Linked DNA regions of Homo sapiens: region 1 is linked to region 2. The links are contacts of gene promoters, found by promoter capture Hi-C in blood cells and fetal thymus (Javierre and others, 2016). All regions are on one chromosome and are shown on one strand. The core of a region is centred on a gene start or on the middle of the fragment in contact, and the rest is flanking DNA. Distances in the headings are between cores, read along the strand shown. Region 1 has its middle 27 kb from the start of NME6. Region 2 holds the start of FBXW12 (F-box and WD repeat domain containing 12).

The links. The method cuts DNA at HindIII sites, captures the fragments that hold promoters and counts their contacts. A CHiCAGO score of 5 or more calls a contact.
Region 1: a fragment that was not itself captured here is called in contact with the fragment with the promoter of FBXW12 in region 2 in 1 of 17 cell types (megakaryocytes); the score reaches 5.8 in megakaryocytes.

What each region holds. Positions count from the first base shown.
Region 1 is chr3:48,273,361-48,276,060 of GRCh38, reverse strand. No RefSeq gene overlaps it. Among named protein-coding and RNA genes, the nearest start is that of NME6, 27 kb to the left of the region's middle. The HindIII fragment of the contact is 1,757 bases long and covers 464-2,220 here.
Region 2 is chr3:48,370,769-48,373,468 of GRCh38, reverse strand. FBXW12 (F-box and WD repeat domain containing 12) reads right to left here and starts at 1,250. Exons shown (of 11, transcript NM_207102.2): 1 at 1,149-1,250; 2 at 612-785; 3 at 124-161. The coding sequence starts at 701. The HindIII fragment of the contact is 9,186 bases long and covers 1-2,062 here.

The sequences.
Region 1 (2,700 bases), core at 93-2,592, 98 kb after region 2:
GACTTGTTTGGCTCAGGGTATAAATTCCTATACACATATAAACTTTGTGCTATACATGGCTTGGGGTCTTTAATGAGTCCTCTAATGTAGGTGGAGAAAGGACTTCCTTCATAAGAGGTCTGAATAACATTTCTCTGAGTTCCCTTTAGCACCTACAGGAGAAATGCTCCTGTAGCGTTATCTGATTTGCTAGGTTATTTTCTGGCTTATCTGATTTGCTAGGTTATTTTCTTGACTCTTGAAAGACAGGCTTTTTGGTGCCTGGGGACATGGACAATAGCTATTTTTTTCTTTTCTGGTAACTGAAGGTTATTTAATACTTGGGTGACTAACTCCTCATAAACAAGGCTTTAACTTTTACTATTAATTCAGTATGAAATTTTCTAAATGTATGAGCCACTGTAAAGGCGTATTTACAATTAGTATATATGGTTCTTTCGGGTCCTGCAGGTACTTTAAAGCTTGACTAAGTGCAGACAGCTTATAAATTTGAATAGACTAATTATTAAACACTTTGATTTTCTCTAGGAACTTTCATTAACCACTGAACACTTGTTGCATTCTTTTTCCCTTAATCACTTTTGAAGGGGGTTTCTCTTAAGTTTGGCCAGACGTTTGTACGGTAATCAGTTAAATCTAAACATGTGTGCTTTCTTTTTGATTTGGATCTCTCGTTAAGAAACTTGCTAGGTTACGCGAATTATCAGTAGTTAATGTTAAACCATCCTTTTTAACAGAATAGCCTCATACTTATACACATGTAATTATTTTCTGGTAGCACATTTTAATATAAGTGACTTTAAGAGGTCGGGCGTGGTGGCTCATGCGTGTAATCCCAGCACTTTGGGAGGCCGAGGCGGGCGGATCACGAGATCAGGAGATCGAGACCATCCTGACTAACATGGTGAAACCCCGTCTCTACTAAAAAATACAAAAAAATTAGCCAGGCGTGGTGGTGGGTGCCTGTAGTCCCAGCTACTGGGGAGGCTGAGGCAGGAGAATGGCGTGAACCTGGGAGGCAGAGCTTGCAGTGAGCCGAGATGGTGCCACTGCACTCCAGCCTGGGCGACAGAGTGAGACTCCGTCTCAAACAACAACAACAACAAAAAAGCGACTTTAAAGAATCAAAGTTCTTTTCTGGTGGATATTTTTACTTTTAACACTGGCCTGACCACAATAAATGCTAGCGGATATATCAGCTGAAAGATTATTTACCACTTGCTCAGGAGACTTAGCCGCAGGGATGCCTAGGTGCTTGGAGCTGCGGCTGAGGCCCCATATTACTTGGCCTTGGCAAAAGTAAGGCAGATATCCCATAATGTAGTCTGCTTGGGGCATAGGCTGGGGCCTGGCCCATGGGTCTTGCAGAGCCGCCGTCAATATGGTGCTGGGATGTTGGACCAGCGGGGGGGCAGGAGCATGGGCTTTGCCTGCCGCTGGGGTGTACTATGGGAGGGACGATGCAGACATGTTGCGGTGGATCCTTGATGTTACTAGCCCAGCAAAAGCGACCTGGTGAATTAGGAGCTTGGAGTTTTTCCGGGGAGGGGGACTTAGGCTGGGCCTGAGGGGAAGGGTTGGGTGTATTAGGAGGGGGACTAGGGGTATTAGGTGGAGGATGGTCTAGGGGATCCCATGTGCTGTTCTCTTTGCCAGGATCCCCCCTTCTCTCACTGGTTCTACAGTAGGGGCAGGTGCATAAGGGAAAAGGGAGGACAGGTCTTTGCTTCCAACAAAGAGCATAGTTCAGTTCTTCTTGAGAAACTGGGCTTTTATTACTTACATGTTGAATTAAAAGTTGATATAGTATATCCTTAGTCGACCCAAACTTTGGCCAGAAGATTGAGGGACTGAGGATAGGTCTTTGAGACCAAATAGAACAGCAATATTTTATCATTTGTTCCTTTGTCTTATGTTTAGTTCTCTTGTTATCTTTCCAACCTTTTAGCCTGAGACCTAAGGGGCTATCAGGTGGTATATCTTTGAGACCTTGGGGACTATCAGTGGTATATCTTTGTTGCTAACTTTATCTTTTTTGCTTGTATTATTTACCATACTGGGTCCTGGCTAGGCTCAATCCCTCGTATTAGGAATCTCTTGCCTAGTGGGGGCTTTCTGTGGCTCAACCCCTCATATTAGGGATCTCCTGCCTATTTGGGGGGTTCCTTCTGGCTCAACCCCTCGTATTAGGGGTCTCTTGCCTGTCCTTCACTGGAAGCTTTGCTAAGGCACAATTCGCCTATCCTTTAGCTCCACCTGCTGGAGATTCCTTGCACCCTTCTTTCACTGCAACCTTCACGCTCTGGCCGCTTCCCTTGAGGGAATGTTCCAGGTCACTTTTAGCATTCATGGGGGGTCAGTATAAACCCCTGACGGGACCCCCAAAGGGCCGCCCTAAGCCATATGAGATGACCACGGAACTGCAGATTGGTCTCACTCCGCACAGCAGTAGTGCTTGTTACCATTCATGCACTTTCAACCTCCAGAATGCCCCGACCCCCGCAAAACCACTAAAGAAGTAATTTGTTGCCCCTGCGACGTTTTCTACCTTGGTCTGTGCAGTTTACCTGGTCGCCGCAGTATTGCAAGTCTCTCTTCCCCGCGTTGCTGAGAGTCCAGGTTTATTCGTCACAACAGGTGGGTCTCGATCTCCCATCCCTGAGGGCCACCGCAACAGGGCAGTGGGAAGTGTCTCCCCTG
Region 2 (2,700 bases), core at 1-2,500:
TACTCACACTAACTTTCCTGTGTATATCTCACAACACAGCCACACAGGCCTTGGGACACAGCATGGGTGCGCAGTCAGATGATCTCCTCTCCCCTTCCCTCCTTGCCCTTTCCCTTCCCTTACCTCCACAGGTAATCACTGTCTGCAATCCTATTCCAATGCTATGGGAGAGAAAGGAAGAGACAAGCAGGCAATCAGTTACATCAGAGAGCAAGGGTAATCCTCTGCTATTATTTGTTCTGGGAGCTGGGCCCGCACAGGTTAATCAGATGGGATTCCAGCTCTCAAAGCACTCTCAGTGTGGGGAGATAAGGAAATGGTAACAACAGAGACCTATCACTGCTAATACAGGCACTGGGTATTCCCATGAATTCACAGGAAGAAGTGTTGATTTCCTAGGGCTTGAAATGGGAGCCTCAAGGACTGTTTAGTCAGCACAACTCCTGGATATCAGCTTGTCCTTTTCGTTTAACAGAATATGAGGCCCTCAGTATGAAGAATGCTAACCCCCAAAGCCTCAGTGTAACCCTCTGCTATTCTGCAAAGTGGTGCTCAAACTGGTCGAGAGAAGCAGCGGGCTTGGGGGGCAGTGGGAGGTGGAAGGCCTTTACCTTGTTCACCTGGGAAACCTGCAGCAAGCCGAACAGGTCCAGGAAAGAGAAGATTCGCTTCAAAGCTAAGTCAGGCAATCGGATCTCCATTTCATGCGGCCTGAACCCACATCCACTTTCCTTTCTCCTCTCCGGGCTGCTCTGAATTTATAGGCTTTGCCAAAGTCTGCAGCACTTGTAAAGATTTTCACCCATGCCCATCTGTGTGCGGTAGAAACAAGCTGCAGGTGTGCAGACTCCCGGGCTGACCTCCACCCCGGCCTCTCCCCTGGGGCCTGATCCACACAGCTGGCAGGCATCCCTACCTAAACCCACTTGTTAGTGCTGTTCATTGTTTAGAGGAGCTCAGCAACACCTGTGCGCTGTGAGCTGGAGGTGCAGAACCTGGGGCAGCCCCAGTTGCAGATGAAGTTGTCAGAACCCTTTAGGAAATGTCACCGAGTGCACTCACTTTGATCAGATCTGAGTGTCTCTATGACTCTATTTAAGTTCCAAACTCCTGGAATTGGAGTCTGCTTGCCCTGTGTCTGTGCCTACCTTGGGATCTTGAATCTGGTGAGTGGGGCTCATCTCTCAGCGCCAGCATGGCCTCTGGGTTTCTACCTTCTCGCATTTAACTTTGCAGTGGAGGAGAAAGAACGTGCCAAGCTGGCTTCTCCACAGAGGTCCGCCCAAAGGGAGCAGGCCTTGTCTGGGATGGCTCTCCCAGCTGGTGGCTTTCCCTGGGATGTGACGCTTTCCCACAGTTACAGATCTCCCAAGAACCTGACAACTCATTCTGGGATTTTCTAAAGACCGTGTCATAGCCTGGGTGTTTGTGTCCTCTCAAAATTCCTACGTTGAAATTCTAACCCTTGGTGTGATTGGAGGTGGGGGGCCTTTGGGAGGTAAGTGGGTCACAGGCAGAGTCCTTATGATGGGACCAGTGACCTTATAAAAGAGACCCCAGAACGCTCTCTAGCCCTGTTCATATCATGCGAGGACATGAGAAGGTGTCAGCTGCAACCTGGAAGAAGGCCCACACCAGAACCTGACCGTGCTGACAGGTGACTCTTGGACTTCTCTCCTCCAAAATTGTGAGAAATAAATTTGTTTGTAAGCCACCCAGTCTATGGTACTTTGCTGCAGCATAAGACAGGGGTCCCTCTGTGAGGCTCAGTGGCCAACCCTTCTTAAAACTGCTGCCTCCAGGCAGACACACGGGAGTGGTTGTCGGGAGTCCCATTTATGATACAGTAGTAAGAGAGAGGAAAAATACAAATTGACATGGTGAGGAAATAAAAAGGAAAAGCAAAGACCAAGAAGCACCTAGAGGGGCGTGGGGAAAGGCGAGTCAAGGGGTGTGTGGAGAGGAGTGAGAAAAATACAAGGGTAAAAGATTTGTATTCCATAAATAGGAAATAATGCAGAGAGAGCCAGAGCCGTGGAAGGACACAGGAAGACAGAAAGCTTGGAACGGACTCTATTGTAGAGGAACAGAATTAATGCAAAGATATAGAAGGCTGAGAAATAAAACACTTTAAAATATGACAAGGGAAGAGAAGAAACAGTAAAATAAAGGATATTTTAAAAGTATTAAAGCACAAATATTATAAAATACACAGATAGGAAATATAACTGTAAGTGGACTGAGACAGAGTAGGAATAAAATGGAAAAGAGGACAGATGAGAAAGAGGCAAACATAAGGAAACTGAAGCAAATTGCCGAATGAGTGAATGAATGAATTTGAAATAGAGGAACAGAGGCCAGGCACAGTGGCTCATGCCCGTAATCCCAGCACTTGGGGAGGCCGAGGCGGGTGGATCACCAGGTCAGGAGTTTGAGACCAGCTTGGCCAACATAGTGAAACCCTGTCTCTACTAAAAATACAACAAATTAGCTGGGCGTGGTGGCGGGTGCCTGTAATCCCAGCTACTTGGGAGGCTGAGGCAGGAGAATTGCTTGAAGCTGGGAGGTGGAGGTTGCAGTGAGCTGAGATTGCGCTACTGCACTCCAGCCTGGGCGACAGTGCGAGACTCCATCTCAACAACAACAACAAAAAAAATAGAGGAACAGGAAGGTGTGTTGGGGGGTGGTGGTGGCGGGGTG